Linked DNA regions of Homo sapiens: all the other regions are linked to region 3. The links are contacts of gene promoters, found by promoter capture Hi-C in blood cells and fetal thymus (Javierre and others, 2016). All regions are on one chromosome and are shown on one strand. The core of a region is centred on a gene start or on the middle of the fragment in contact, and the rest is flanking DNA. Distances in the headings are between cores, read along the strand shown. Region 1 overlaps DTWD2 (DTW motif tRNA-uridine aminocarboxypropyltransferase 2). Region 2 overlaps LINC02215 (long intergenic non-protein coding RNA 2215). Region 3 holds the start of SEMA6A (semaphorin 6A). Region 4 has its middle 170 kb from the start of MIR1244-2.

Region 1 (5,035 bases), core at 878-3,377, 2.4 Mb before region 3:
TTTTTTTTTTTTTTTTGTCTTTCTGTGGGGTTGGTGTTAATGTTATATTTGTCATTTCTGATTCTTTATTTGGATTTTCTTTTTTTCTTTATTAGTCTAGCCAGTGGTCTTTTGTTGTTGTTGTTGTTGTTGTTGTTGTTTTTCAGACGGAGTCTTGCTTTGTTGCCCTGGCTGGAGTGTAGTGGCGTGATCCCGGCTCACTGCAAACTCCACCTCCCGGATTCACGCCATTCTCCTGCCTCAGCCTCTGGAGTAGCTGGGACTACAGGCACCTGCCACCACACCCGGCTCATTTTGTTTTTGTATTTTTGGTAGAGACGGAGTTTCACTGTGTTAGCCAGGATGGTCTCGAGCTCCTGACCTCATGATCTGCCCACCTTGGCCCCCCAAAGTGCTGGGACTACAGGTGTGAGCCACCGCGCCTGGCCGCCAGTGGTCTGTCTGATTTATTCTTTCAAATAACCAACTTGTGGTTTCACATGAAAACTTATATTAATTATAGATCTAGTAGGAACAAACATGTCTAGGCCAGTGATATAATTATTTTGATTACATACTGCAGTTGATTTAAAAAAATTAGGGTGCATTTTAATAGATAGGCTTATTTTTCTCTAATTACACACACTTATTGTATATTAGTATATGATGCACCTCATAAAACATACACAAAACTAGATATCAAAAAAGGAAGAAGTATTGGTGAGATAAAGTCTTTAAAAATGTTTTGGTCAGTAATGATAGTATAATGGAGTCTCACTATTATTATTTATTATCTCAAAGCACAATATATATTTCGGGTGAGATTCCCTGTTAAGGATAGTAAGATGCAAGTCCACAATTCAAATAAACTTGATAATTTCTTCACTGCTCTAGGCATGCCCTCTGGGGCACAAGTCTCTGAAACTCTCATCTAAAGACATTTATTCTTGGGAGTGTTTCTGAATCTATTCCTTTGTGGGAGGCTGCCCAATTCGCAAAAAGAAAAACAAATGTGTATATATATTTAAAACAGATATATATTATATATATCACCGTTTTAGGATAGGACAACTTCACACTGTAATTAAAAAATCACAACAGTGGCCAGGTGCGGTGGCTCACACCTGTAATCCCAGCACTTTGTGAGGCCAAGGCAGGCAGATCACGAGGTCAGGAGTTCGAGACCAACCTTGCCAACATGGTGAAACCCCATCTCTACTAAAAATACAAAAATTAGCCAGGCATGGTGGCGCGCCCCTGTAATCCCAGCTACTTGGGAGGCTGAGGCAGGAGAATTGCTTGTACCCGGGATGTGGAGGTTGCAGTGAGCCGAGATCATGCCACTGCACTCCAGCCTGGGTGACAGAGCAAGACTATGTCTCAGAAAAAAAAAAATCACAACAGTATATTTTTTCTAAGTCTATCCTTCCTCCACTCCTAAAGCCAGTTATAAGAGAATCTAGTAAGGAAAACAATTTTGCAGGGTATGGGAATATTATTGTTATTTGTACTTGAAGCAGTCAGACATGGAAGATGTTATCTACTTCTGTTTTGGAGATGAAAATGTATTATAATGTTAATCATGTAAAGCTATTTCTACTTTTATTGGTTATGTTGGATATATAGTTTCAGAAATCTGACAATGACTTTATCTTACAGATCACGTTAGTTTCTTTAAAATGACAGCAGAGGGCACTATGGTATTTAGTTTTCCAAAGCCAGTTTTAAAATTGGAAAATTGTTGCCATTTTTATGTGTAATGCAGTGTATCTATTCAACTAGTTGAATGAATAGCTATGAAACTTTTTGTTCTTTGCTTTTTCGCTATGTTAGGAGTATAAAAATTTTGTTGAGTATTGGTAAAGTTGAGGTGCACTATTTTTCTGGGTTCCACATTTGCTTTTGTTTAGTACTCTTTAAAAAGAGTACTTGTAAATCTGTTCACTAATCTTTAAAGTTTACTTATTTGAATCACCTTGATTAAAATCAGTACTGTGAGAAAAAAGCTTTCAGTGAATATTATATAAGAAATTTAATTAAAGCTTTGAAAGATTTTTTTGTAGGTCCTAGCATCTCTAGTCATATGTCAGATATAATTTTATTAGCCCACAGGCTGTCAGAGATAGTATGCCCAGAGTGATACACATTACCTTTGTATTACAGCATTTGTTTAGGAAGCAAGTCAGTCTTAGTCTGACAGGAAGCCCATGTATTTATTTCTACATCCTTAATGAGAAAAGAAGAAAAAGCTTATTTCACAGAATTTCCTTGGGGAAATGATTTGAAGGTTTCATTTATATTTTAAGAATGTAATTACATTAATTGGGTTGTATAGGTTTTAAAGAAGATAAACCCCGATGAGCGGAAAAATACATTGTAAATACATTATAAATATAGAAAAGGGAAAAATCTCAGCACCTATTTTGGTCAGTCTGTTATAAATTAGCTCAAAATAATAGCCAGAATGTTTGCCTGTAATGCAGTAGTTATTCCCCAGAACTCTCTTGTTGCCTTATTGTTACCAGTTTTGTTCGGAAGGAAATTGAAAATCTGTGACATGCCCAAGGTCACATAGCAAGACAATAACATTGGTAGTGACATTATAATAGTTATTCCCCAAACCTATACCCAGTTGACCAGTGTATATTTCTTTAGATGTTAGTTTTTATTTCTCATATCTATATAAATTCTAGAAGTAGCTTGATTAAAAAAAAATGAATATTCATTATTTACAAATAATCAGTTTTGATATATAGTTATGTGATATTTTTTGCCTGTCAAGTATAATAGTTCATAGGAAGCAAGGAACTTTTTTTTTTTTTTAAGAGATAGGGGTCTTGCTGTGTTGTCCAGGCTGGAGCATAGTGGCTATTCACTGGTTGTACTACTACAGCCTCAAAGTGGGCTCAAGTGATCCTCCTGCCTTAGCCTCCTGAGTAGCTGCACCCTGCTATGTGCCTGGAGAAGCAAGGAACTTTTAAAAAATTATTTCTGGCACAGTGAGAACAAATAAGCTCCATGAGGGTAGGAATCTTTGTTCTTTTTATTGTCCCAAGTGCCTAATATCTGGCACTTAGGTATGCAGTAAATATTTGAATAAAAATTTGTTGAATTTATAAATTATTCAATCCATTATTAATTTAAATATTTAAACCTTCTAGAGAGATTTTAGAATGAGGAGAGCAGTTACTCTGCACTTACCCACTAGTTTAGGAAGAGATGGTTTAACAGTTGGTCAGCTAATCACCATTACCATGCATGCAGAGCATTGTCGGGGAGGAAAGATTGATAGTAAGGTAATAAAGCAGAAATGCGTCCTATAAAGTAACTTGCTAAATATAAAGCTAGTTGAGATGTTTTAAAGAGCTACAGTTTTATTAGTTTGAAGTAATTATAAGTAAAATTAGGTTAATAAAGAGAATATGCTTTAAAGTAAATAGAAAATGTTTTGTGAGCATATAAAATCATGAGTTAAAGCAATTAGTTTTAGGTTAAATCACGCTTATAGTGTTTACACATAAATTGTTTAGCTATTTTTTTAGTAACTGTTTTCTTCAGTAAATATTTTTGTCTTTTATGTGCGATCACTTATCAAAATGATCACAAAATATAATAAAGGAAGACCTGACACTCTGAATTTCATTTGTAATACAAATGAATTACTTAAGTACCAGAGAGGGCATAAAGGAGAAATTAAACTTTGATATATAAAAAAAAATTAACGAATGGGATAGAAAATTGTATAGGAGGAGAAAAGCATTCAAAGGTTTAGAGAAGACGGAATGTAAAGATATTCCTTCAGGCTGGGCACGGTGGCTCACGCCTGTAACTTCAGCACTTTGGGAGGCCGAAGCAGGTGGATCACTTGAGGCCAGGAATTTGAGAAACTTCACCTCTACAAAAAAAAATCCAAAAATAACATTAATTATTCAAATACAAAAATTAGCCAGATGTGGTGGTGCACACCTGTAACCTCAGCTACTCACGAGGCTGAGGCATGAGAATTGCTTGAATTGGGAGGCGGAGGTTGCAGTGAACTGAGATCATGCCACTGCACTCCAGCCTGGGTGACAGAGTGACACCTGTCTCAAAAAAAGAAAAAAATCCTTTATGTATTCAGCAATATCTATTGAGCACCTACTATGCCAGGTGCTGGGGATATAGCAGTGAAAAAGGTAGGCTAAGTCCTTGCCTCCCTGTAGCTTACATTTTAGAGAAGGAAACCCACATTCAGCTAACATAATGTCAAATAGTAGTAAAATGCTGTGAAGAAAAATCAGTCAGAATAAGGGGATAGAGAGTGATAGTGAGAGAAAAGGTGGATGATTTGATTGATTGATTGATTCATTGCTAGGGTTTTTCTCTCTCTGTTGCCCAGGCTGGAGTACAGTGGTGTGATCATAGCTCACTGCATCCTCAAACACCTGGGTATGAGCAGTCTTCCTGTTTCAGCCTCCCAAGTAGCTGGGACTACAGCTGTGCACCACCGTGTCTGGCTAATTTTTAAATTTTTAGTAGAGATGAGGTCTTGCTATGTTTCCTAGGCTGATCTCGAATTCCTGTGCTCAAGTGATCCTTTCTCCTCAGCTTCCCAAAATTCTGAGATTACAGGCATGAGCCACCATGCCTTGCCTTGGATTATTTTAGAATGGGGCATTGGAGCAAAGACCTGGTCTAAGTGAATCTTTAAGCTCTGCAGATATCTGGGATAAGATACCAGGCAGAGCACCAGTTGCTAGACACTCAGGTGCATAAGACTACTTTAGGCCACACCTAATACCAGAAAGATATAGGCCAGGAGCCACAAATTTGCATTTGTGGCATTGTAGAGCAACCTTAGATGACCCTTTTCTGCTGGCATCCTTGTGGCAGTCTGGCATAGCAGTCCAGCTCAGGTGGAAGGTGATATGTTCCACACTAGGCAGATAAGGTAGCCTAATAACTTTATGCTCTCAGGAGCCAACATCTTTTGTAACAACTCTCTAGCAAGTTTCTAGGGTTCCAATTTAGGGAAGTCCAAAGTATGGTGTCCCCATAGGGTCTTTATAGGTCTCTA
Region 2 (4,926 bases), core at 2,322-4,821, 2.0 Mb before region 3:
GGTCAGCTGTCACCAGAGGGTGCCCTGTCCACATCTGCCCAAAAAGACTAGATTAACTCTCCTTCCTATGGACATACAGGAAAGATTTTATTAATGGCAGCTAGAGTAGTGTCCTTCCATCAGGGGACATACCTGTCCAGTACAGTGACTGACTTACTCCATGTGAACGTCCATCCTCGTATCACAACACTCCAGCATATCTGCAAGACCAGAAGATGGTAGCGGGGCGCCGATCAATCAGTTGAATGGGACGGTGTTATCGTGGAGCTGAATTGAACCCTCTTAAAACCCCCTGTGCTGTGGCAGCAATAAATGATCCCTACAATGCATTAATATTCAGTGTATATTTGGGCTTATTTTAGAGACTTAATAAAAGTATAGTGGCTGGACATGGTGGCTCATGCCTGTAACCCTAGCACTTGGGATTAGGAGGCAGGAGGGAGGAGGACTGCTTGAACCCAGGAGTTTGAGACCAGCCTGGGCAACATAAGGAGACCTCATCTCTACGAAAAAAGTATGTCCTATAGCAAGATAGAAGAGGTAGATTCTATACATTCTACACTTATATTTCCCCAAATCTGTGTGAGCCTATGTGAACCCAGGCAAGTCATTTAATGTTACCCATTTCCATCATCTGAAGAATCAAGGGGTTGGGTTACAAGATGATACATAAAATTTCTAATAGTTTCTCTAAGATTTGGAACTCAAATGGATGATTGTGAATGCCTATAGAAGATCATGGTGAAATCTTTGAAGCGAGCTGGTAATGTAGTGCTAGTATTTGCAGATTGATAGGCATGAGTGCTGATAAAAGGAGAGAGAGGTCATTGGAGCAGGCTTTGATGATGGATGTGACTAGTTGATCAAGGGAAGAAAAACAATAGGCTGGAGAATGGAAAGAAGATGATGACTGCTGGAGTAAGTAATTAAGATTCTTATCCTCTGGTGACATTAGGCAGGGTTCTGGAAATCTTCATGCCTTGGGTGGATTTGCAGACTAAACTCAATAATTTATTGTTCATTTTTGTTCTCCTTACATTATTTGAGCTCCTTAACCCTGAGAACTTAAAGAAGAATGGAAAGCTATGCATTAAAGATAGAAATAGTGGCAGGAATATTTTCTTAGCTTCTTGGTTTCCTGTACTTGGCTCCAGGATGCAGACTTTCACAAATTCAGGCACACTTTCTTTAGGGAGGAATGTGGCTTAGAGTTAAAAGATGTTAACACTCCTTGGGGACTATTCTTATAGCTGCCTGAGTGGCAGGGTACTGTGACCTTGAAGAGAACCAAGGAGAAAGAACAGGTTTCAGGAGATAGGTATCATGCCAGTTGTAGCAATTGTGACCCATCCAGCTTCTGTGCATCAGAGTTGAACCATCTTTTCACTGGTTTCTCTCCTTGAAAACATTAAAAGTGAGTATTTATCTCTCGTTGGCTTATTTATTCCTCAGACTCAAAATGGAGAATGCATTGAATTATTTTCTCTGACATAGAGATAAAGTTTTTATACACTTAGAAAGCTCTTTCTTTGTTATTTTTTTGGTTTCAGTATATCAGTAGAGAGTTATCTTTTCATATATAATACTAACTTTTTAGATTTTTAACATTGTTATGGTAGTTTTAGTTTTCTTTTTTTTTTAACAAAAGGGGGAGATAAATCTGTGGATGAATGTTTCCTTACCTAGGCTGAAATCTCTTAGATATTTTCTTTTCTGTAAACCTCTGAGGCAGATGGTTTCAAACTTTCTCACTTTCAGAAACTTAGTGCCCTTAGTGATTCAGTATATTTTTCACAGTCACGCCTAGGCCAAAAGAAAAACCTAGCAGTTGTGTTTATTAAGTACATAGCTCCAAACAATTTAAGTATTTATACCTAACAACTTAACAGCTTTATGAAAAAATAATATACATAAGTTACCTGTGAGATTACTGTAGTATCCGAGAACACCTTGGCAAACAGTTTGGGAACCATGACTCTCAGAATAGATAACCGCAGATGGAATTTAAAGAAATTCCCACTGCAGTAGAGAGTTAGGTGGACAACTAACAACTTCTATATGGCCTGTCATTATCCAGATGGTGGGAAGCTGAGACATTACAATCTGGGCAACTAGAAAGGCAGGTGTGGTAGTAGCAGGAAGGAAAGTTGATGGCCTTCTTGGGAAAAAGCTGAGAGAAAATCCTTGGCTAATTCTAACTCAAGGAATGCAATGAAGGTCCTTGGAAGACAGAGTCAAGTTCGTTCCAGTGTCCCCACCTCAGTGATTGCTGGTGAGGTGAATGGATTTTATACATGTAAAGTGCCCAGATAGTCTCAAGTCTCAGTCTTTATGCAGTCTCATAATGTAATGTTTGATATATGCATTATATAAATTTTGCTGCTACTTAAATTCATTGATGAAACTCTGTGGAGTGTGAGTCCTACCCCTGCATTTCAGATAACACCAAGAGTGCAAGAACTGGGGCAATATGCTATCTATCAGTGTTCCTTATGGAATTTGGGTGTTACATCTTTTTTTTTTTTTTTTTTTTGTTTTTGAGATGGAGTCTCGCTCTGTTGCCCAGGCTGGAGTGCAGTGGCGCGATCTGGACTCACTGCAAGCTCCGCCTTCCGGGTTCACGACATTCTCCTGCCTCAGCCTCCCGAGTAGCTGGGACTATAGGCACCCGCCACCATGCCCGGCTAGTTTTTTGTATTTTTAGTAGAGATGGGATTTCACCGTGTTAGCCAGGATGGTCTCGATCTCCTGACCTCGTGATCCACCTGCCTCGGCCTCCCAAAGTGCTGGGATTACAGGCGTGAGCCACTGCGCCCAGCCTGGGTGTTACATCTTAATAATACTTGCTATTATAACATTTCCCAGAGTGTGTTCCATGGGAATTAATTGATGCTACTTGAAAATAATGTTCTGCAATTAGACGTGTTTGATGAATGCTGGGTTAAAACAAATTATGCTGGGCTTCACAGAGCCTTTAATATGTTAGTCTACATTGTAAAGCTTCGGGAGGAGAGATAATAGCATAATTTATTCCCTAAGCTTCATTGATCAAGGAAACTTTTTATATTGAATGAAACATCTTATAGATTCATGTTTCATAGAATATACTTGGGGTGAGTAGTTCCAAAGGATCTTTTTAACCTATTTCTTTTGAATTATTTGAATAGATATTTACTGATCAGGGCTCTGATTTATCTGATATTGTCTTTCACGTTGGGATTACAAATTGAACCCTAACGTTATTTTTATGAGAAAGGACAATGTATTTTAAATCAGTTCTTTTGCACACTAGTTTTCTTCAATGCACCATGGTTTAGGTGTGAATCATCTGTATAGTGTGATTGCGTTTCCAACATTCTAATGCTGAATTATGTATATAACACAATTCATAATTTACTGACAATTTCCTTGCAGATGAGTGCTTCTAGTCATCAGAATATAACAATGCACATTTATTTCCAGTTATCCACAAAGTCTTCAAGCCTAATAATACATGTTTTTTAAACTTGTATTATTTAAAGGGGGAACCTTTTAAATTCCTAAGTATATGCTGTATCACATAAGTTTGGTGCCCCCATTAAAAACATAACAAACCCTCTTGCCTTTCTAGGTTTTGGATAAGTTGGCAAAAAACCAGAGAAAATGTAGATACCAAAATATCAAATATAAAGTCTGTTATTGAAATGGTCAGGTTAATATTGAACTCCAGAATTAGGCAGACATAACCGTTCAAATCCAGTTAGCATTAGAGTGAGGTAGGCCTCCCCCTACACAACTTATGCCAAACATATGCTTTCCTCAGATAAAGCTAGTTGTACAGAAGAAGGAAGGGGGCTGAGTCTTGCATCCTTCTACTGCCCCCATTTTACCTGGTCCCTAGGAGTAGTGTGAGACTGGGACAAGTGATCTGGGATTACACTGATTAGCATGCTTCACAGGAGGGAAATATAAGGAGAAAGGAAGAAGTATTTCTCAGTAACATCCGAGTTAGCCAGGAAGGCTCAGGAAATCCCTGTTTGGTGATGAGATCATTGTATCATTGTTTAGAGATTTCTAATTCATGATGCAATGTATTTTTAAATGGTAAGTTTTAGAAAGCTTGTTTTTATAATTCTAAACTCTTTCAGACATCAGTTGTGTATCTAATCTTTTGTTTACAGGACCTACTCAATCTAAATCAGAAAAAGAACAGGCTGAAGCTACAAATAAGATAAAAAGAAGTAGAAATGACTGTCTTGTATTTATAAAATGGCGATCATGAGATTTCATGTTAATGACTGACTACCGAGACATGCTATTTGGCTCTATGTGTCTGTTTCCCACAGAAAGGATGTCAGGCCTGGTGTTGATGGGCAAGCTGTCCAGAACATGGGTACCACACGTGCAGCACGGGCTCGGGCCTCAGAGTCAGGCACGCTGGAGCACTCATTGCAGCTCAGGTGCCACCCACAGGGCGAGCTCACACATGCTCACTCTGGTGAGTGCTGATAGCAGAAAGGATGCCTAGGCTCTCCTTCTATATGAAGAAATTAAATACATTATTTAGGACTAATTTTAAATTAGCTAGGTCTCTTTTTTAAATGAAAAAAAAAAAACTGGGAGAAGGATGATTTGACATTATGAAAGCAGTTTGTAAGGGCTTTTCATATAAAGCAACTCTAGAGGAACTAGAAGTGTGAAGACACCCAGGCAAACTTTGGTCTCCAGGTTAATTCAGGGCAAGTTAAAAGAGGAGTCTGTCCAAACCTGGGGTAGAATCCCAGGGTGAGAAGCAGTGTTTGAGCTGTTGACACTTAATAACAAATAAAACTAATAGTAGTGCAGATATTTGTATTTATTTAAATCTCTTTCTAACTGAATGTCTTTAAAACACAGTATAAAGAGATTAGGAATACTTTTTAAAATAAATTTTAGTGATCTTAATAT
Region 3 (5,558 bases), core at 2,141-4,640:
CTTTGCAGAGAACCTGAGTTTATCTTTCTGCTTTATTTTAATCTTCCGCCACACTTTTCCAGGTGATCTGAGGAAAGCGGGAACTGTCATGTAGTTAACAAGGGCAGGGGGTGGCTGGGCGCGGTGGCTCACGCCTGTAATCCCAGCACTTTGGGAGGCTGAGGCGGGCGGATCACGAGGTCAGGACATCGAGACCATCCTGGCTAACACGGTGAAACCCCATCTCTACTAAAAATACAAAAAAATTAGCCAGGCGTGGTGGCAGGCACCTGTGGTCCCAGCTACTCGGGAGGCTGAGGAGAGAGAATGGCGTGAACCCGGGAAGCGGAGCTTGCAGTGAGCTGAGATTGCGCCACTGCACTCCAGCCTGGGCAACAGAGCAAGACTCCGTCTCAAAAATTGAAAAAAAAAAAAAGAAGAAGAAGGGGAGGGGGAGTTGTTACAGGTAGCTCCCAGCCCTGACCCAATCGCTGACACAGGTCAAGCCACTTCTGTCCGCTGTGCTTCCATGTGACTCCTGTAAAATGTGATGGTAGGACTGATGTGGAGGATGGCAAGGATGACAATGTGACACTTAATCTTTATAAAGCAGTGTCAGCCTTAGACTCCGAATTTACGAAGATCATCTAATGTAATCCACGAGCTCCTCGGGAAGTGAGTAGAATAAGAATCCCCATTTACAGGTGAATCCACTGGGACTTCACAGAGATAAGTGACTTGCCCAAGATCACCAGCTAAGTTACATTAACCGCAGATGGCCTCCAGAGACCAGGGCCTCAAACACTCCATTTTACGTCACTTTAAAAAAAACCACTGAAGTCACCTTCTCATCACTCTGTGATTCTTTAACTCTTTGGCTTTCTTTTCCTGAAGGGACAGGGTATAAATTGCAGACTTCAAAGGCTTTGAAGGGGCAGTGGTTTTACTGAAAACTTACTGCAGGCTTCTGGAAGTGAGTCTGAGGCGCACTTATGGGGAAATGACATCATGAGGTTTCATAGCCTGGCTTCCCCACAGGTGCTCCCCTGGGGGTTTCGGGAGCCTGACAATAGCTGGCTTTTCTTCCAGCTCCGGGAGCATCTTTTCTGGCAGGTGGAAATGTAATATCACGTGGTCAGAAGGAAGGGCTCCTACTTGGATGGTGAGACTAGGATCTAGTAATTGCCAGGAAGATTCTGGGTGGTATTTCTTCACTGTGAAAAGTAGACTCCAATTCTTTAACTCTCGTATTCTATAATTTTAAATTAGGTAAATTTAATCGCTCGCTTCTTGGCTCAGCGTTACTACAAATTAAACATGCAAGTATTAATATTGAATATAATGTCCCTTTAAACAATATCCTGAAACTCGTTGTGGGGCATTTCCAATATATCCATAAAGCAAATAAAACAACTTAATTGTTTGTTTCTCTAAGGGAAGGAGCTAAACCCGAAATTAATTTAGTTCGGCCTGTGAAACAATTCGTTTGCTCTGCCTAATTCTGCCAATTTAAGAACTTTTCCCAGACACAATTAGCATGTAAATCGGCGGCGGGGAGCGAAGAAGGAGCCTCGGCGACCCCGGTTGGGTGGAGCGCGGGACAAAAAACCCCGGAGGCCGAAGGGTCCGGAGCTTCGAAGGGGCTGCAGTACCGCGCCTGGGGCGCACGGACGAGCCAGGGGACCAGCTCACACTGACCCTGCAGTCATCAGCCAAAATCTGGGTGTTAAATAGCGCAGCCGGGGATCCAGCCGTCTTGGCCGCCAGATCCTTCTCCTAACCCCGCGGGATTCTGAGGAGACGTCCTGGAGCCGGCCCCCACCCAACCCGCGGGAAAGCGCAATCCTACCCACCGCCCCACACTCCCCAACCCCCTCCCGAGGCTGGCTCTTGAAGCCGCGGGGGCTGCGCGCGCACCTAGGGCCGCGCCCCCCACTACCCCAGGTCTATAGAGGCCTTTGCCCGAGAAAGGTGGGGATAGCGGCCCCTGCTGACAGCTCTGGAGAACAGCAGGGGTACTGATTTTTTCTTTTTTTCCTACCATTCTCCCTACCTTTTCCAGGTGGTGGTAGTGGTGCGGGGGGAATGGGTGTTGACCCATGTGCATTTATTCTTCGTGAAGCCTCTTAAGCAGATGTCTGTACTTAGAGAAGCGACCAAAGAGGGAACGTGGACTTATTAGTGGTCTTAGTCCCAATTAGGGAACAGGTACAGTTTCCAATATAAAGAAACTCGGCCTAAGTGGGACTGAGACCCCGATCTCCGCACTTGCTTTTCTCAGCCAACTCCATGACTAGTAAATATCTCTCCGAGAACTGCTGGGCCGCCCGATGTTACTTTGTTTAAAGGTTGCGACTAGGATCCGTACCATCTGCGAAGCCCCCTTGGGGAGCAAGAGCCGCGGCGCGCAGTTGATTTCGGGGCGCAGCGGCAGGGGGAGGGGAACGTGGTGTGGCCCGACGAGTTGGCACAAGCCTGTAACTGCAAGACTTTGTAGCTATTGAAAGTTCAAGTGGTGAAAGAAGGCTGTGCCTGCCATTCTTCATGTGATCATAACAATAGCGCCTTGGAAGTGGTTGCGATTTTCTTCTTCCATAAACCTTTTGGGTTCTCACTGGAATTGTATGCGTGTTATTTCTGAAGTTTACTTATTTCTAAGACCAGTCCACAAAATGTGAACTTCATTAAGTTTTAAAATAGATCGCCGTCGTTAAAAACGCCATTCTCTGCACTGTAGTTTATTTGCTTACTTCACATGCTTTATTAACGTGTGTATGTGCGTAATTAATAGCTGTGTTCTTATCTTCCAAGTGTATTTTTAACCGCACCGGCTTCTATCCAATTCATCTAACTACGTAGAGCGTCCATCGCTTCTGGAATCTACCTCTTGATAACAGTAATCAGAATCAGAAAAGCTCGCCGTTCACTTACCCTCATCCTTTAAAACTTTTCCATTTAAGAAAATCGATGAACAAAACCTTTCTTGTAACTCGCTCCTGCACTACGTCTATTTTTATTTATTTTTCTGATTTGGCAGGACTCAGCAATGCTGTCCGGGATTTTTTTTTTCTTTTTTTTTTTCCTAGCTAGAGCAGATGTGGGGGTGGGGGAGGTGAGGGCTGGGCTCCAGCCAGAGTCGCCCCCGCTGAGCCTCCGCCTAGCGCGCGGTGGGGCCAGGAATCCTGGTGGAAGGAAGCGGCGCTGGCCAGTTGGTCCAAGGCTCCACCTGCAGCCACACCGCGTAGTTTCTCCGCCTCTGCCTCGCTCACTCGCACTCACATACACCACAGCTCTCCTTTGGGTCGGAGGAGACGCCAGCCAAAGTAGGCGGAGTTGCGGAAGGAGAGTCCGATCTGCGCAATCCAGTCCGGGACTTGGCTCCGCCCGGGAGCGGCGGCCTCTCCGGTGACAGAGGAGTAGTGAGCGGCACGGGGTGAGGCTGCAGCCAACTCCGCTCCCCGCGCACTCGGCTGCCCAGGCGCTCGGAACCCAGCAGCGGCGCTCCTCCGCGGTGCCGGTCGCCCGCGATGCCCGCTTAGCAGCGTGTAGCAGCGGCCAGCATCACCACACCCGCGGCACCGCGCTGCCGGCCGCAGAGCCGGGCCAGAGCCTTGCACCCCTGCCCCAGCCCCCACCCCGCCCCCCGCCCTGAAATGACTTGTTAATCGGCGCAGACACCACCAAGGGGACTCACCGAAGTGGAATCCAAGTGGAATTTGGATTTGGAGAAGAGTTTCTTGAACATTTACCCTCTTCCTTGTTGGTTTTCTTTTTCTTTTTCTTCTTTTTTTTTTTGGCTTCTTTTTTCCTCTCCCCTTCTCCGCTCGTCATTGGAGATGAACACATCGCGTTTGCATCCCAGAAAGTAGTCGCCGCGACTATTTCCCCCAAAGAGACAAGCACACATGTAGGAATGACAAAGGCTTGCGAAGGAGAGAGCGCAGCCCGCGGCCCGGAGAGATCCCCTCGATAATGGATTACTAAATGGGATACACGCTGTACCAGTTCGCTCCGAGCCCCGGCCGCCTGTCCGTCGATGCACCGAAAAGGTACGCCCCGGGCGCCCGGGCGCGCCCCACCTCCCGGGCAGCTGGACTCCAGCCTGAGGGTCCCGGGGCCGTGGCTAGCGCGTGCTGTCGGCTTTGTGGTGCCTGCGTTTTATTTTGTCTTGTGTCTCTGTTTCCCGAGCCTTGCCCGGTCCTGGGGGAGCAGCCGTGAGCCCTGCCTGCCTTTCCTCTCTGCCCTGCGCCCCAGAGTGCGTCCGGCTCCACGTCGAGAGCTTTCCCACCCGCGTTGCGCACACGCCCGGCGCCGCCCCGGGCCGCGACGGCGCGTATGGCTGTTCCTCCTGGGGGTGTGTGTGCGAGACCCAAGGCTCATCCTCCCGCGTGCCCAGCAGGGAGCAGAGCGGGCCCTAAATGGTGGGATTCTCGGAAGCTCCCTGGCCCGGTGTGTCGAAGGCAGGGGAAGGGGTTCTGCCCTCGAGGGCTGGAGGGGGTTGGGTATAACAGCGCTGTTTTCGTCCAGTGCCAGGTGGGAGAAGGGGTTCCGCGGAGACGGTGTGGAAGCGGAGAGAATCTTTTGTTGTCAGTGTGGGGTCTGGGCTGGGCTCCGTGGAGTGCAAGAAACTTGTAATGGCTCTAGGCACCCGCGCGCCCTGTCTCTCGGTGAGATCCTGGCTCCTGTGGCCGCTGCCACCAGAGGTTCCGGGCTTTGTTTGCTCGAATAAGTGTCCGGGAGCAGCCGTTCGGGTGACGCGGCGCCCCCGCCATGGGTCCTGTCCCCCGCCGCAGCTCCCAACCCGAGCGGCAAGGATATAGCCCGTCGCGGCTGCGTCCCTCCTGAAGCACCGAGCCCTTTGCACCGGGCTGGCGCACGGTACGCCCTCCTCCCAGATCAGCGCGGTCTCGCTCTGGAAAGATGACCCAGGAGGGGGAAGGGTGAGAGACCTGGCAGAAGATGGCCCTGGGTTTGAAACCCAGACTAGGGCTCTGTTCCGACTCCTCACTGTGTCCTAGGGCGCTACCATGGGGGCAATGGGGCGCTGGAGAGTAAGCCGGGCAGTGCCCACCCACCCTGCCTGATCCTTCTGGGGCGGGAAGTGTCTCTTGTCCCGATTCTCCGCGTTTTGCTCAGCTCCTCGCTGTGGGAGATGGTGCAAAACAGGATCCTGAGGTCTCCTCCCTCCTCGCAAGACCCGAGCGGCACGGGGGGAGCCAGGGAGCGGTCCCGGGCTTGTGGACGTCGGGAAAGGAAACAGAATTCCGCTGTTTTTCCCGCTCCCTCGCCGCCCCTCCGCCCAGCGCCTCCTCCCACTTTACAGCGGCGGGGTCACTAGACCAGGCGCTCCTGGAAAGTTTCCCTGAAAGCCAGGGGCGGCAGGCACGACCGGACTGGGGCTCAGCATGTGCAGTCTGAGGGAAGCCGGACCTGGAGGGAATCATGCGGACAGCTCGGGATGCAGCTAGGAGCTAGATCCCGGCCCTTTGGAGAGTGGAACCTCCTGGCCCGCGGTACTTGCTCGACAAGTCGGGGAAGGGATGAATGGGGAAGCAGGACCCCGGAGGCAGGTGCGGCCA
Region 4 (4,855 bases), core at 667-3,166, 2.2 Mb before region 3:
GAGTTTGAGTAGAATTGGTATTAGTTCTTCTTTAAACTTAAAAATTTAGTTAATGAAGATGTAGTTTGGTCAGCAGGAAAAGTGTGCCTTTGCCTTGGCTTGGGTTATGGTGACTGTTGTCTTAACAAATTAGGTATTTTTAGCATGTGTCTCTAATGTGAAGGTGGATAGTCAGGTTGTTACAGCCCGAAGTCATCAAACACGTGTTGCATTAAAACAATTACCCTAATTGTGATTCTATACGAATCTAAACACTCTTTTGAGTGTATAGTATAACCAAAATTGAGAATGTGGTAGATCTGTCTTCAGAAGCAGAATGAGCTGGCTATATAATCTCAATTCCTCTGTCCATGATCTACAAGACAACGCTGTTTCATTGTAAATTGGCAAATTAAAATTCTGGGCTATGCCTTAGTGTTGATAAGCTCAGTTAATATAAGTTGATGTCCCACAGGTAGATTCATGCTTAGTATGCTGAAAGAAAAAAATCAGATTTCTGAATTTTCTAGGAAGCAGACCAGGCCAAGTACATGAAAATGGACCTAGGTAAGGCTCTTGAAAGTCTTCTTGTCTGGTAGCCGTTTGACCCATTCTGGTGACATATGCACCTAAATACATGCACATCTTTTTTTTCCTCAAAATTCTATGATATTTACTTACTTTATAAAATTTTTTCTGTTCTCTTGTTTTCCTTATCAGAGGGTTAAGCCTTCGAAGGTAGTTATTCCTTCTTCATTTTTTTTGTGTGTATTTATCACCTAGCACAGTACCTGGCATAAAGTAAGCATTTTAATTAATACTTAGTGAGTGAAAGCATATACATTAATTGAAGTAAATGATCAGACATAAACATATAAATACAAAAGGGAAAATATAGATGGATTTGGGAACATCCACTCTTTTGGATTTTTTATACCTTACTTTACAAACATTAGCCTAATAATCAAATACCTGAATTTGTAAACAGAATTCTGTTTTCTTCTCATCCCCTATGTAGCTCTTTATGTGAGCAGTGTTTCAGTACTACCAGAGGTGGGAGATATTTAAGGATGTGGTAGGCCATAAATGCCTACTACTACTCTGTACTGACAGAGCATTACTTGTAATGTAGCAGGACAAGCTGCAGACAACACTCCTCAGACACCGAGTTAAAGAAGGAAGGGCTTTATTCAGCCAGGAGCTTCGGCAAGACTCATGTCTCCAACAACCGAGCTCCCTGAGTGAGCAATTCTTGTCCCTTTTAAGGGCTCACAACTCTAAGGGGGTCTGTGTGAGAGGGTTGTGATCGATTGAGCAAGCAGGGGGTACGTGACTGGGGGCTGCATGCACTGGTAACTAGAACGGAACAGAACAGGACAGGGATTTTTACAGTGCTTTTCTATACAATGTCTATAATCTATAGATAACATAACCGATTAGGTCAGGGGTGGATCTTTAACTACCAGGCCCAGGGTGTGGTGCCGGGCTGTCTGCTTGTGGATTTCATTTCTGCCTTTTAGTTTTTACTTCTTTCTTTGGAGGCAGAAATTGGGCATAATACACTATGAGGGGTGGTCTCCTCCCTTAGTAAGAAATGACAGGACTAGGTGAATGTAATCCAGTCTAAGCCAAGGAATGAAATCTATCTTAAGTCAAAGTAAAGCTTAAGTCTATTCCAATGACATTTTCTTTTGTTGTTTTAAAAGTCTACCCTTGTATTAAAAAAATCTGCAGAACGAATGCACCAAGGGCTCAAGAATGAGCATTGGCATTGGCATTTTCACTCCTTCTCTATAAAACAGATTGAAACAGACAGGGAAGAAAGGTAAATACCTGTGACCTTCTTTAAATTGGCTTCCACAGAAGTCATTGGGAATGAAATGAGGCCTGCAGTGAATAGTACTCAGGGAGGCCCCTCAGGTTTCCCCTCCTCCAATGGGACTTCTTTTCACTCTCAATAACTTTTTTGTGTTCTCAGGAGAAAAACAGCTAATATGCTTAGATATGAACAATTGGCTCCACATGTATCATGCAAATTTCTCAAATTTCATACGCAAAAAACTGCTGAATGACATTTCCTCAGCTGTAGCTACTGTCCATACCTCTGGGGAATGTGGACACAGTGGTAAGGTCAACCCCACAATAAGGAGGCTTTCTTGGTCTCAATAGGCACTTTATGCTCATTCAAAAAGAAATACTTCGAAAGCTTTTTTGGCCAGGGTGTGTGAGCATTGCTGTGCAAAGAGAAAGAGCCAGCTTGGGCTGGGCCAAGGGAAATTAGGCTGACCCGTGGAGGGTCCTAGAACTGGCTCTGAGGTGAGGTGGGTTGATGTGGGTTTGAAGATGACCTGCTAATACCTGGTCAGTTTACAGTAACCCTTTGCACTCGACTCACACTGGTGGATGCGAGACATGTCTAAAACATGTTTGACTGTTTTACTCACAGGCAGTTTTTCTTTGTTCTAGATTGGGCCCCTAACCATGTTTTAAACTACTGTATATTTTACCACTATTTAGGGTTATGTAGGCCAGACAAAATAATTATTCCTGAGAATAATCCTTAAGAATAGTTTATGAATTATCTATCATTTCAAAGCCAATGTTTTCACTTCTTGCAATTTTCAGGGAAAGTTTTCATCTAGAGAAAATACTACATAGTAGATTTCAGTGAAATATAGTAAAGAAATTTTAGGGAAAAATTAACTAAATTTTGGTGAGAAAAAATTTAGGGAAATTTCAGTAAGAAATTATAATTCCTATTTTGGGGTTATAAGAAGACAAGAAGGAATAGTCCAATGTGCTTTAGGTTACAGCTACAAAAAATAGTAGTCTTACGTTCAGGAAGAATTCATAATTCCTGAAGTTTAGTATAAGAGGAAAATAGAATCTGGGGATAGAAGTATTAATTGATACACGCTTATATTGGCTTGATAAATATTGATTTCCATATAGTAACATCTGACTTATCTGAAATCATTATAGCCAGTAATTTTAGTGGTTAGTAACAGAAAACCAACCAAAATGGGCTTAGCAAAAGGAGTATTTAATGGCAGTTGAAAGTGAAAAATACAAGTAGGGATGTTTGATGGAGGGGCTCAGATGGGATCACCAGGACTCTCTTCTCTCCATCTCTCATTTCTGCTTCATCTGGATTAAATTCCCCATGGTCAGTAGCATTGCTATAGCTGTTCTAGCCTTACAGACTTACTACTCTCTGCCTCTTTTCCAGGTGATCCTATAAAACTTGTGGGATTAATTCTGGTTGAACTGATTTAGGTCATGCCCACTTCTTCATCTTGACTCTGATGTGGGGAAATGCTGTGCACTGGTTGACTTAGGTCTGGGTCACTGACTTCTCTCCTGGGGCTGGGCTGGAGACCTGAAGCATCCAGTGGACTGTAAGAGAGCAAGGGATAAGTTCTCAGATGAAAATCAAAGGCATAAGACAGCATAATGGAAATGAGAAAGATCAATGTCTACCAAGTGTCCCAAAATGTATCTTATTTTAAAACATGATTTTCCTGTTTTCCATGATAGTTTATTGAGAAAAATATTTTGTAAAAAGCCTAGCTTGGTCAATAAAATGTACTTTCTCAGTACTTGATCATTTTCAAATTCCCCTGTTGACACCTTTGAAACCAATATATTGAACATTCTCCACATACAGGCTTTTCTAAAAATGTATATTGAGATAGAGTATACTAAATAGTCTCCTCCCTGTCTGAGTCCTAGGAATCTCAGCAATCCTTTCACAAATGGTGTTCTGTGAGCTGGTGTGTCTTTGGTATGAACCCACTGTGGGTGGAATGAGCTCTTTTCAGACCTGTGTGTGTTACTTCTCTTAGTCAAAGGACAAAATCCCTTACACCAGCTGGCTTATAAACAACAAACATGGATTACTCACAGTTCTAGAGGCTGGGAAGTTCAAGATCAATGTGCCAGCAAGTTTGGTGTTGGATATGGGCCCATTTCCTGGTTGATAGATCGCTCCCTTTCACTGTATCCTTACATGGTGGGAAGGATAAATGAGCTCCCTTGGGTTCATTTTTTAAGGGCATTAATCCCATTTGTGAAGACTGCCATCATGACCTAATTGCCCTCCAGAAGGCCCTACCTCCTAATACCATTGTCTTGGGGATTAGCATTTCATCATATGAATTTTGAGGGGATACAAACATGCAGACAATAGCATTCTCTCTGGGAAATACCTAAGTCAGGGTCAGGTCTTGGTAGGTGAGTTAGAATAAAACCCTTACCCAGTGGTCCTGACTACAGGATTTGGTCAGGAGCTTCTGTGCTCTCACACTCTGCACTCTACTCCTTGGCTTCAAAGTGAGGGATTGTTGTAGTTAGGTCAGTTTGGTGATTCCAGTCCTTTTCCTCTGGAATCTTTTTGTACCATATTATTTCTACAGCAAATTATTATTATTATTATTATTATTATTGTTTGAGACAGGATCTCACTCTGTCAGCCATGCTGGAGTGTAGTGGTGCAAACATGGCTCATTGCAGCCTTGAACTCCTGGGCTCCAGTTATCCTCCAGCCTCAGCCTCCCAAGTAGCTGAGACTACAGATGCACACCACCACACTTGGCTAATTTTTTTTTTTTTTTTTTTTTTTTGTAACAACAGGGTCTTGCCATCTTGTTCAGACTGGTCTTGAACACCTGAGCTCAAGCAGTCTTCCTGCCTCAGCCTCCCAAAGTTTTGGGATTACAGATGTGAGCCACCTCGCCCAGCCAACAAACTCTCTTTCTTCATATTTGTTGAGAGATACTTGTGTCTTATTCATAGCTGAACTTGCATAGCATATTAAACCTTTCCTTATTTTTTTTCTGAGTATAGCACCTTATTTGCCTCTCATCAGTCCAGGACT

The links. The method cuts DNA at HindIII sites, captures the fragments that hold promoters and counts their contacts. A CHiCAGO score of 5 or more calls a contact.
Region 1: a fragment that was not itself captured here is called in contact with the fragment with the promoter of SEMA6A in region 3 in 1 of 17 cell types (endothelial precursors); the score reaches 8.6 in endothelial precursors.
Region 2: a contact is called between a fragment that was not itself captured here and the fragment with the promoter of SEMA6A in region 3, in 1 of 17 cell types (M0 macrophages). The highest score is 5.2, in M0 macrophages.
Region 4: a fragment that was not itself captured here is called in contact with the fragment with the promoter of SEMA6A in region 3 in 1 of 17 cell types (endothelial precursors); the score reaches 6.2 in endothelial precursors.

The regions. Positions count from the first base shown.
Region 1 is chr5:118,953,566-118,958,600 of GRCh38, reverse strand. The region is part of intron 1 of DTWD2 (DTW motif tRNA-uridine aminocarboxypropyltransferase 2); the gene reads left to right. Among named protein-coding and RNA genes, the nearest start is that of MIR1244-2, 19 kb to the left of the region's middle. The HindIII fragment of the contact is 207 bases long and covers 2,024-2,230 here.
Region 2 is chr5:118,606,634-118,611,559 of GRCh38, reverse strand. LINC02215 (long intergenic non-protein coding RNA 2215) reads right to left here. Exons shown (of 5, transcript NR_104998.1): 2 at 1,683-1,821; 3 at 133-200. Among named protein-coding and RNA genes, the nearest start is that of LINC02215, 13 kb to the right of the region's middle. The HindIII fragment of the contact is 1,059 bases long and covers 3,042-4,100 here.
Region 3 is chr5:116,572,655-116,578,212 of GRCh38, reverse strand. It overlaps SEMA6A (semaphorin 6A), which reads left to right and starts at 3,390. Exons shown (of 19, transcript NM_020796.5): 1 at 3,390-4,028. SEMA6A-AS2 (SEMA6A antisense RNA 2) reads right to left here and starts at 3,795. Exons shown (of 3, transcript NR_147170.1): 1 at 3,674-3,795. RefSeq lists enhancers at 1-58, 59-694, 5,332-5,558 and a silencer at 3,555-3,634. The HindIII fragment of the contact is 8,307 bases long and covers 1-5,558 here.
Region 4 is chr5:118,797,460-118,802,314 of GRCh38, reverse strand. No RefSeq gene overlaps it. Among named protein-coding and RNA genes, the nearest start is that of MIR1244-2, 170 kb to the left of the region's middle. RefSeq lists an enhancer at 1,953-3,152. The HindIII fragment of the contact is 543 bases long and covers 1,645-2,187 here.